Regions from separate parts of the Homo sapiens genome. Here all the other regions are linked to region 1. Evidence: promoter capture Hi-C in 16 types of primary human blood cells and fetal thymus (Javierre and others, 2016). All regions are on one chromosome and are shown on one strand. Each heading gives the region's core, a stretch centred on a gene start or on the middle of the fragment in contact. The rest is flanking DNA. Distances are from core to core; before and after follow the strand shown.

What was found. Contacts are between HindIII fragments. The CHiCAGO score rates a contact against its expected background, and 5 or more counts as called.
Region 2: a contact is called between a fragment that was not itself captured here and the fragment with the promoter of FAM78A in region 1, in 1 of 17 cell types (total CD8 T cells). The highest score is 6.2, in total CD8 T cells.
Region 3: a contact is called between a fragment that was not itself captured here and the fragment with the promoter of FAM78A in region 1, in 1 of 17 cell types (total B cells). The highest score is 5.9, in total B cells.

The regions. Positions count from the first base shown.
Region 1 is chr9:131,273,990-131,277,914 of GRCh38, reverse strand. FAM78A (family with sequence similarity 78 member A) reads left to right here and starts at 1,405. Exons shown (of 2, transcript NM_033387.4): 1 at 1,405-2,058. The coding sequence starts at 1,736. RefSeq lists a silencer at 56-1,235 and enhancers at 1,876-2,375, 2,536-2,585, 2,616-2,665, 2,078-2,690, 2,676-2,725 and 2 more. The HindIII fragment of the contact is 5,571 bases long and covers 1-2,185 here.
Region 2 is chr9:132,346,949-132,350,510 of GRCh38, reverse strand. SETX (senataxin) reads left to right here. Exons shown (of 26, transcript NM_015046.7): 3 at 1,076-1,259. The coding sequence starts at 1,083. Among named protein-coding and RNA genes, the nearest start is that of SETX, 6.3 kb to the left of the region's middle. The HindIII fragment of the contact is 4,966 bases long and covers 1-3,562 here.
Region 3 is chr9:132,381,549-132,385,464 of GRCh38, reverse strand. The region is part of intron 9 of TTF1 (transcription termination factor 1); the gene reads left to right. Among named protein-coding and RNA genes, the nearest start is that of TTF1, 23 kb to the left of the region's middle. RefSeq lists enhancers at 1,578-1,627, 3,045-3,204. The HindIII fragment of the contact is 1,886 bases long and covers 1,295-3,180 here.

The DNA.
Region 1 (3,925 bases), core at 156-2,655:
GTTTGACCCGGTTGCCTTTCCGATGCTGCAGCAGAGCGAGGCAGCGCGGGGCGCGCCAGGCGGCAGCGGCGCGGCGGCGGGGCTGAGCGGCGACAGCGCGCTCACAATGATCATAAAATAAAGGAGGCGCGCGGGGTGGGGGCGAGAGAGCCCCGAGCCTCAGCCCTCCGCCCCCGGCCGCCCCCCCGAAGCCCCAAGCCGGGAGGAGGGTGGGGGCCGGGGGCGCCCACGCCGGCCCCAGACTCCAGTAGAGCCAAGGGACAGTGCCCGGGGAAGGGGGTGGGGGCGCCCCAAGAACGTGCCCGCGGCCGGGTCAGGGGCGTCCGGAGAGCGGCTGCCCGGGCCAGCGGAGTGGCCCCCGGGGCAGGTGAGTCGGCGGCGCCGCCCGAGTGGGGGCGTGCGCGCCAAAGTTCCCCGGCAGCGGCGAGCGCGCCCGACGCGTGGGGACCCGGGGCTGCTCGCGGCTGGAGAGGGGCGACAGAGGCGCTTGACGCGGCGGAGCGGGGGCACTATGCCCTCCGAGGGCCGAGGGACCCCAGCCGGGAAAGGGGTGCCCGCCGGATCCGACGGCACTGGTGGGTGGCCCTGCGCCCAGGGAGCCGGAGGGACCGGGGTGGGGAAGGGGCACCTGGCGCTGGCGGCGCGGCGGTGGGGACAGAGCAGGGCAAGTGCTCGCCGCCCCCTGCAGCGGCAGCCGCTCGCCCCCCACCCCGCCCGTCCGGGACGGTATCAGCGGAGATGTCACGGGCGGCTATTATTCGCTGGTGCGCGCGGTCGTGCGGCCGCCACTGACGGGGCGGGCGCGGGGGGCGGGGGCCACCGCCTCCGGGGAGACCGCCCAGAGCTGCGCCGTCAGCTCCGCAGCCCGCGCCCAGCGCACACGCGTCGCCGCCCCCGCGCGCCCCCCGCAGCAAAGTTCGGCTTAACTTTGAGGCTGGCCTTGACGCGCTGTCCCTTCCACCTCCCACCAGGTCCTCGGCGGCCGCGGCGAAGCAGGCGGCGGCGGCCGGAGCGCAGCCCCGGGACCCTGCACGGCGGCCGGCAGCGACAGCGGCGAAGGGACGCGGCGCCCCTGCGTGGGGACGTCCGGCCCGCGCCCGCGAGTGGGCGCCGACGGGGACCCGCGCCGCGCTCCCCCGTCACCGGCGAGCGGCCGGAGCCCTGAGCTCGCCTCCTGGAAGCCGCGGGTCGGCGCTCGCCCCGAGGGCGCCGGGACCTCGGCCGGGTGAACACAAACTGCTCTGCAATTGATTCGACCGCGCCGGGCGGGTGCGGGTGCGGGGCCCGGAGGGAGCGCGTGCGGAAGGCCGGAGGGCAGGAAGTCAGGCTTCTGCCGCGAGGGTGGCGCGGCCGCGCGGGGACAGAGCCTTCCTTATTTATGAGTCTGCCGGCGCTCGCCTGCTTCCTCCGAAGACTTCAGGGAGAGTCTGCGAGCTGCCGTCCCCGCGTGTGAGGCACAGAAGGGCTGGATGTCAGAACCGCATAATTATTCATTAAACTACAAACTTTTTTTAACCCAAAGAATATCGGTGATTTTTGTCCACTGCGAGGAGAAGAAGAGAGAGCCCAGGGCTCATGAAATGCAGCAGAATCCTTATTTATAAACAGGCCGCGGTAGTGATATATGCAACCCCAGTCTACTCAGTGAGTTTTCTATCCTATGGATATCGGTCTTGAGAGTTGAGATTGGAGAGCAGCGCCGTCTGTACTGGGTCCTGCAGCCTCTGTCCTTTCAATGCCTGGTTTTTTCTGTGACTGCTGGCCTTCCCTGGAGATCAGAGCGCTCCTGTATGCCATGGGCTGTATTCAGAGCATCGGAGGCAAAGCCAGAGTCTTCCGGGAAGGGATCACGGTGATTGATGTGAAAGCCTCCATCGACCCCGTCCCCACTAGCATCGATGAGTCCTCCAGCGTGGTGCTCCGCTACCGGACACCCCACTTCCGGGCCTCGGCCCAGGTGGTCATGCCGCCCATCCCCAAGAAGGAGACTTGGGTAGTTGGCTGGATCCAGGCGTGCAGCCACATGGAGTTCTACAACCAGTACGGCGAGCAGGGCATGTGAGTACGGCCGAGAGCCAGCTCTGGGAACTGCTAGGGATGGCCGAGCTTGGAGGCCTGGTGGGGGGCCGCGGATAGGGGGAAGGTGGAGATACCATGAAGACAGGACGGAGGCCAGAGGGAAGCTTTAGGCAGGTATGCAGGTGGCCTCATTGGCCCGGTGGCTCCCTGAAAAGTTTGCCTGTGGATCCAGATTGGAGTCACGGTCCTGCAATCTACCCTGCCACTGTTCCCCCCGGGTTCCTGTGTCCTTCCCTGCAAGATGCCGAGAAAGCAGAGAGACATTACTCCCAGTGTTTCCTGGCAGAGCAAGTGTGCCGTCCGCCTGAGGAGTGTCTGTGCCATCAGGGGTCACCAGAGAGGCTGCAGGGCTGCCCTCCAGGCCTCTGGCCCTGTGCGGGCCCATGGCAGACATTCAGGCACTCTGCAACTCCCAGACCGGTGTGTTCAGGGCTTTGCGATTGGGCCTCAATTATCTTTCTGGCTTTTACCAGTGTATGCCAGGAGCTGGGGGAGTGCTTCCCCGTTCCAAACGGCACTGTGTTTGAGAGCACAGTTAGTTTTAGAAGCCCGATTTCTTCACAGTGTATCGCTTTCTGTCTCCAAGGCAGAAGACCGCTTTATGCAGACAAGTCCAGTGTCCCTCTGGCGAGGCCCTAACAGGAACAGCAAAGAGGAGCCTCTCCTCTGCAGCCCCAAAGCCCGGTCTCCAGAGTGTGCCTAGGGTATTGGGGGTCCCGGTGAGGACCCTGGGACCCTGGGGCTCCTTTCCTGGCCTGCTTCCTGACCCCAGAGAAGGCCGTCCCCAGGGTGAAAAGAGCTGCATTTAGGCAGAGTTGGGAGAGTGACTTAATCTGAAGGTTCACCCTAAGACAGGGATGGTGAAAATAGCTGTTTCTGAGCGTAAGGACCCTTTGGAGAGAGCTAGGCAGGCCCCGGCGGGCAGCCCACCCATGCGGCCCCGTGACTGGCCGCTGACACTCCCAGAACCTCTCTCAGTGTCTACCCTGTGGCCCCGTGACTGGCCGCTGACACTCCCAGAGCCTCTCTCAGTGTCTACCCTGTGCAGCTTCACGTCCCCGTTTTGCAAGTGGGGAAAAGAGGAGAATTTCCCCAGGAGCTGGAACTTATCACAGATTTAAGAATCTCATGGGCCACCTGTAAATGAGAGGGGTGGAGGATGGCGGGACACCAAGTCTGGTGGCTTCTCTACTTAATGACTCCAAAGTTCTAAAGGAAACATGAGGATCACAGTAACCCTTAAGTCCAGCGTGTGACAGTGACTGTCCCAAAGAGGTACATGGGGGGCACATCTAGAGGCTCTCACCGGCCCTCTCCACCAGCCTGATTTCTGTGCCAACCCCTTTGTGTCTCAAGAGCAGCTAGTAATCCAGTTCGGGGGAGGGGGTGCTGCCTTTCTGTTCTAAGCAGGGAAACATGATTCTTAGTTATGCAGTGAGGACCTTTTCTAAGAACGCTTAAGCCCAGAAACCTCCTCGGGCTTTGAAGGCATCGGGACAGTTGTAGAAACAAAAGTTTTCCTCGGGGTTTTGGGCTAAGCCTAGTTTCTTCCCTGGAAGGGGTAAGGAAGCCAGTGGGTTCTTCTGAACTTGGAAAGACATGAGCACTCACGGGACTGGATGCTAATGTGGTTGGTGCAACGTGTGGTGGGGAGGCCACAGGCCTGACCCAAGGTACAGACTCCAAGCCTCAGCTTCCCCATCTGTGCACATGGGCTTCCGATGTCTTGTCTAAGACTTGTTCTCCATCTGGTGACCCTGAGTAGGTGTGGGTGATGTGGCTGGAGCTAGGCCTGAGACTGGGACCTGAGACAACCCTGCCCTCCCTGTCGCAGTCCTGGCTTCCT
Region 2 (3,562 bases), core at 459-2,958, 1.1 Mb before region 1:
GCCAAGCCTAGTTTCTGTTGAGATGTTTTATATTTCCTGTTGGTAAAGATTATGTATTCTGAATTTTAGGGTGACGGTGATACTCAAAAATCTCACACTGCCATGTTTCCATTCCCACATACTCAGTGTCTTCACTTAGGTTTCTTTTGTTTGTTTGTTTTGAGACAGAGTTTCACTCTGTCACCCAGGCTGGAGTGCAGTGGCGCAATCTTGGCTCACTGCAACCTCTGCCTCCCACGTTCAGGCAGTACTCCTGCCTCAGCCTCCCAAGCAGCTAGGATTGCAGATGCGCACCACCAGCTAATTTTTGTATTCTTTTTAGTAGAGATGGGGTTTCACCATGTTGGCCAGGCTGGTCTCGAACTGCGGACCTCAAGCAGTCTGCCCACGTCGGCCTCCCAAAGTGCTGGGCTTACAGGCATGAGCCACCGTTCCCAGCTTACTTAGGTTTTTTAACCTCCTTCTAACCTTTCTCCCTGAGTGGAGAGTTTTTAAACATTTTTAAAAACTGCCTCTCCTGTGAATTTTATTACCACCAATATATTGTGTCTCTCTTTATGTACTGTATGTTTATCTGAGCTTTATATCTAAAAAGAGGAGGGCTTTTTCACGTCCCACTAACTAGTTTTAGATCTCTTTGAGGGTGACATCACTCCTGATGAGAATGCTGAGCTAGGTCCATTCAGTTTATGAAATGAACTTAAGTTTGTAGTTGGTAACTTTTTTCCCCATTCCAAAATCTGTACTTTGAAAATATTGGTAAGTCTGGGTCTCTATATATTTTCTATCGGTACTGTGTTGTTTTGAGCCTTCTCTGTAGCACAACTTTATGTTGCCTTATGATACTTATTCCTTATACAATGCTTTTATTTTTCTGTATTTTTCGTATGTCAAAAATAGAAGGATTTTTTTAGTTTAGTGAATCAGTGATTGATAAGCCAGCCAGCAGAAGATTTGGGTTTTAGTGACACATTTTAAATTGAAACCAGGGTCACAAGTTGAAAGTGTACCTATTCTTGACACACAGTAGGTCTGAAGTTGGTTTTCTTCTTGATGTCATCTTTTCTGGCTGTAGGTACAGAATGAGCACATGTTGTTGGTGTACGCCAGGTGGTGCTTCCACCATTGACTTCCTAAAGCGCTATGCTTCCAACACTCCGTCCGGTGAATTTCAAACAGCCGACGAAGACCTCTGCTACTGCTTGGAGTGTGTGGCTGAGTACCACAAAGCAAGAGATGAATTGCCATTCTTGCATGAGGTAAAATATATTAGATGGGCAATATTTTTCAGAGCTTGATAGCTGGGAAGAGAGTAAGTTTGAACTCCGTTGGAAGTATTCAGAGAAATGATGATACGATTTCAACTTTGTGGGTTTTTTTTTTTGTTTTTGTTTTGTTTTTGTTGTTGTTAGAGATGGAGTCTCACTCTGTCACTCAGGCTGGAGTGCAGTGGAGTGATTATACATATATCATTTTACACATTCGAGTATATTCTTAGGACAAATTCCTGAAAGTGGAAGTGCTGTCTCATGATTTTCCATGGGCCACATGGGTTTTCATAGTTTGTTTTGCTATGTTTTGGAGACAAGGTCTTTGCTCTGTTGCCCAGGCTGGAAGTGCAGTGGTGCGATCACGGTTCACTGCAGCCTCAACCTTCTGGACTCAAGCCATCCTCCCACCTCATCCTCCTGAGTAGCTGGGACTACAGGCATGTGCCACCATGCTCTGCTAATTTTTAAAATTTTTTTGTAGAGACGAGGTCTTATTATTTTGCCCAGGCTGGTCCTGAACTCCTGAGCTCAAGTGATCCTTCCGGTTTGGCCCCCCAGTGTTGGAATTACAGGCATGAGCCACCATGCCTGGCCGACTTTGAAGGCTAATATAAGTCAAGTACCTAACTCATTGCCTGGTATATACTAGGTGCTGAGTAAATGTTTATCACGGATGGAATTGAAACCTGGATCAGAATTTTATGATCTGTTGCTTTTAGTCACATTGGTATAAAATAATTTAATGAAATAAAGTCATTGGGAGGGGATTTGTTTCATAATTTTTTGGTCAGTGCTATAATACATGCATGTATCTGAGTATCTGAATGGCCTGGGTTTTTGTTAGTGGGTTGTTTTTTTTTTGTTTTGTTTTTTTTTTGAGACAGAGTCTCACTCTCTTGTCCAGGCTGGAGTGCAGTGGCGTGATCTTGGCTCACTTCAACCTCTGCCTCCCAGGTGGGTTCAAGCGATTCTCCTGCCTCAGCCTCCCAAGTAGCTGGGACTAAAGGCACGTGCCACCACACCCGGCTAATTTTTTATTTTTAGTAGAGATGGGGTTTTACCATGTTGGCCCAGCTGGTCTCAAAACTCCTGACGTCAGGTGATCTGCCCACCTCGGCCTCCCAAAGTGCTGGGATTACAGCTGTGAGCCACTGCGCCTGGCCAGGGTTTTTTTTTTTTAATTGGTAATAATAACTTCTTTTTTTCTTTTTTTAATGGGCAAATGGCATAAACCTTTAAGGGCAAGCATATTTTCCAGTCATGATAACAAAAGTGAAAGATATAATTCTAAATATTTGGCTTTGAATATTTGGTTTATTTATTGATGAAAAACAGAACGTAGACCATAGAGATATATACAGTATATAGAGGAGAGGATGATTAGTAATGGACTTGTGTTGAGAAACGTGCACTTTATAAAGTTTTCTAATTATGAAGCTATCCAGCGTCTTTTATACCACAAGCTGCACTAAGGTAGTTAGCTATGGCTAGAACATAGAAGGGAAGACATAGAAGGGCCTCGGTTTTGCATTTGACAGAGAGGCTCCAGCTTCTCTTTTTTTTTTTTTTGAATGTAGTTGATAGGGATGTTGAGATATTTATAGAAAACTTCTACAAGAGAAGTGTTTAAGGCTGAGTGCTGTAGCTTACACCTGTAATCCCAGCACTTTGGGATGCTGAGGCAGGTGGATTACGAGGTCAGCAGTTTGAGACCAGCCTGGCCATCATGGTGAAAGTCCGTCTCTACTAAAATACAAAAATTAGCCAGGCGTGGTGGTGGGCGCCTGTAATCCCAGCTACTCAGGAGGCTGAGGCAGGAGAATCGCTTGAACCTGGGAGGCCAAGGTTGCGGTGAGCTGAGACCACGCCATTGCACTCCAGCCTGGGCGACAGCGAGATTCTGTCTCAAAAAAAAATAAAAAGTGTTTAAACATAGCATACTATTTTTTGTTTTCTTGTTTTTTTTCGTTTGTTTGGTTTTTTGTTTGAGATGGAGTTTCCCTGTTGTTGCCCAGGCTGGAGTGCAGTGGCGTGATCTTGGCTCACTGCAACCTCCGCCTCCTGGGTTCAAGCGATTCTCCTGCTTCAGCCTCCCGAATATGGGATTACAGGCATGCACCACTACGCCTGGCTATTTTTGTATTTTTAGTAGAGACGAGGTTCCTCCGTGTTGGTCAGGGTGGTTCTGAACTCCCGACCTCAGGTGATCCGCCCACCTCAGCCTCTCAAAGTGCTGGGATTACAGGCAGGAGCCAGTGTGCCTGGCCTGTTTTCTTTTTCTCTTAGAGGCA
Region 3 (3,916 bases), core at 988-3,487, 1.1 Mb before region 1:
GTGTGCAGGCCAGACTCCCACGCCTCAGGGGACTTCAGACAGTTGACAACTCAGCACACGCTCCAGACATCCAGGAGTTCCAGTTACCTTTGTGTACCCAATTTGGAACTTTGTAAACACTAGCAATTCTCTGGTTTTCAGCCCAGCTCTCACTTCAAAATCATCTGGGGAACTTTTAAAAAATACCAGTGCCACGTGAATGGGATTGGTCTGGTGTGGGGTCTGGCTTCGCATGAATGGGATTGGTCTGGTGTGGGGTCTGGCTGTCAGGATTGTTCAGAGCTCCAGGTGACTCAGATGTGTTACCCTGCCGAGACCCCGTGCTTTAGCGCTGGTTAAATGACTTGGTCGGTTCCCAGTTAGAACGTTTTAGTTGTGTGTAACAATTCAAATACAGAACTGAATATCATGCCCCACCCATAAGGAAAAAGGACTTGACTGTTCAGTTTGATTTTGCTGTTTTTCTGGAATAGGTAATAGATTACGTAGTCCAGAATTAAAGAAACGTAGGCTGGGCACGGTGGCTCTTGCCTGTAATCCCAGCACTTTGGGAGGCCAAGGTGGGCAGATCACCTGAGGTCAGGAGTTCAAGACCAGCCTGGCCAACATGGTTCAACTCCGTCTCTACAAAAATACAAAAATTAGCCAGGCATGATGGCAGGTGCCTGTAGTCCCAGCTACTCAGGAGGCTGAGGCAGGAGAATCGCTTGAACCCAGGAGGCGGAGGTTGCAGTAAGCCGAGATCATGCCATTGCACTCCAGCCTGGGCAACAGAGCAAGACTCCATCTCAAAAGAAAAGAAAGAAAGAAAGAAACCTGAAAGGAAACACAGTGAAAAGTGTCCCCTTACCACTCACCAGCCACGCGTAGCCCTACAGGAAACCAGTATCTATTTTCCGTAGATGGTTTATGCAAAATGTCTGCAGGATCTGAGTGATGTTCTGATGGCTAATGTTGGCTATTTATACCTACTCTCTTTTGTTACTGCTTGAATAGGAGTTACCAGAGATTGTCTTTTCAAAGCACCAGCTTTGATTGCGTTGACCCTATCTTGTGATTATTCTAATGTCAGCTCTTTATCACGCCCTCCCTTCAGCTCTCTTTGAGTTTATTTTGCTGCTGTTCTTCAACTTCTTGAGATGGGTTCTTAGCTCATTTTCCATTTTTCTTTCTTTGTAATATACATTTAAGGCCATATGTTTTCTTCTAAGTACTGCTTTATTAGCAATGCCCAATTATTTTTTTCAGAAACTTTATTAGGAAAATTTTAGACAGATACAAAATAAATGAAGCTTCATGTACCCATCACCCCAGTTCAGCAACTGTCAAAATCCAGCCGTCCTTATTAAACATCTACATTCACTCCCTCCAATTACTGTTATCTGTTTTGGTAAATTTTACATACTTTGCAGCCTTAGTACCATTCAAAATTCAAATAATTCTAGTAATTCCATTTCTAGAAATACATTCTACAAAACAACTTCACACATACATGAAATGACTTGTATACAGAGTAACTGACTGCAAAAGGCCTGTTAATAGGGGACTGGCTATATATGTATTTTACCCATATAGTGACATTCTTTATAGCTACAAAAAATCATGAGAAAGCCCCTCGGTGGTGGGGCAAAGAAAGCGCCAAGATACAGTCTTGGGTGAGGAAACACTGCGTGGTTGCAGGGTGGTGTGCCAGCGCCACAGAACAGGAAAGCTGCAATGTGTGTGTTTATTCGAGACTTCCAGTCTCTGTGCTCTGGACCAAATAAATCAGACCAGCCCTCCCTCCAGCCCACCTGCCACCGAAGACACCCAAGAAAGGCAAATGAAATGTATGCAAAGTCTCTTAAAGGCTTCAAAAAGCTAAACAAGTTGCAAGAGTAACAGAAAGAACCCCGCATCCCCTTTACCCATAGTCGCCTCTTCTGAACATTCTGCTACGTTCACTTTATCATCCCTCTCTCCCTCCTCCAAGGGAATACGGTTTTTCCCATAACCATTCAAGAGTTAGTGGCAGATACCACTTCCCAAGCAAGGATGTTATTTTACATAACCATAGTACAATCGAGAATCAGGAAGTTTCACATTGATATAGTACACCCTCTAAAACATAGTCCACATTCAGATTTCACCAGTTGTCCCAGTAATGTCCTTGATAGCATTTTCCCCCTTTAATAATTGTTCCATTTCCTTAGTGTCCTTTTTTTTTTTTTTTTTGAAGACAAGAGTCTTACTCTGTTGCCCAGGCTGGAGTTACAATGGTGTGATCTCAGCTCACTGCACCCTCTGCCTCCCAGGTTCAAGCAATTCTTGTGCCTCAGCCACCTAAATAGCTGGAATTAGAGGCATGCACCACCCTGCCTGGCTAGTTTTTTTTTTAATTAGTTAATTTTTTTTTTTTTGAGACGGATTTTCACTCTTGTTGCCCAGGCTGGAGTGCAACAGCGTGATCTCGGTTCCCTGCAACCTCCACCTTCCGGGTTCAAGCAGTTCTCCTGTCTCAGCCTCTGAATAGCTGGGATTACAGGTACCTGCCACCATACCTGGCTAATTTTTGTATTTTTAATAGAGACAAGGTTTCACCATGTTGGCCAGGCTGGTCTCAAACTCCTTACCTCAAGTGATCCACCCACCTCAGCCTCCCAAATTGCTGAGATTACAGGCGTGAGCCACCACACCTGACTTTTTTTTTTTTTTTTTTTTTTTGTATTTTTAGTAGAGATGGGGTTTTGCCATGTTGCCCAGGCTATGCTTGAACTCCTGGCCTTAATCCCTCTCAAAGTGCTGGGATTACAGACGTGAGCCACCATGCCCGGCCTTCCTTACTGTCTTTTAATCTATGAAGATCGTCCATCTTTGCTGTTGATGGTAGTGAAATTTTGGAGGAATACAGGCTAGGTGTTTTGTAGAATGTCCGCAGTTGGCACTTGTCTGGTATTTCCTCTTGAGGAGATTCAGGCTGTGTCCTTCGGGCAGGAGTACAGCATATTCCTGATGTTTGCTATCACTGCATTACGTCACAAGGTACATAATTCTCGTTTTGACTTTTTTTTATTATTTAGCTAAGGCAGCATCTGCCTCTTTTCCCCACTGTATAAAAATACTGGTTCTTCCTTTGGTGGTAAGAAATGGCTGTGGGAAGACATTTTAAGACTATATAAAGATCCTGTTCCTCTTTAAGCTTCTGTCAGTTTCCTTGTGGTTTTCATTTGCATTTCTCATGTGAGAAGTGAGATTGAACATGGCTCTTGTGTTTATAAGCTGTCTCTCTTTCCCTTCACTGTGAGCCTTCACTGCACATAGCTCTTGCATTTTAATCAGTTCCTGCGATTGGAGGGCCCACCACTCTCGATATCTCAACTTACTGCTTGCTACGCAAGGGAGAGCTGGGCTGCAGAGCACAGGCCCTCTACGTGTTGCCGAGCATCATGGGGCTCGGGGATCAGTGACTTTCAGATGCAGGGATGTTGAGGGATTGTTTGGCCTTTGGTTTTGGAAGGTAGACAGTGGGGTGAGGCTGCTGCAGCCTGGCTGACTTCCAGAAGTGTGGCTACTGGTGTGAGGTCGCCATTGGTCCATTAGGAAAGATTTTGTTTTGTTTCTAGTCAATATTCTGCGGAACCATTAGGGAGGGTTTAAACTGGTTCTGGTGGTTAGTTATTTATGGTTTGGGATTATAACCAAACAAGAAAGGACAATCCGTCTCTTCCTTCTTGAATGTGGAGAATTGGAAATTCTTAGTCCAGGCCCTGCCAGGACTCACAGATACATGCCGTGGTCCCAAAGTCTTTTCTTTTCTAGCTCATCTGAGGGGCAGGGTGCCCACTCTTCAGCATCATAGGCCCCAAGCAGGGAGGGTGCCAGGTGCTTTGAAGGAGGTGACGCTGATGTGCACCCCACCAGCTCCCATCTTGAGAAC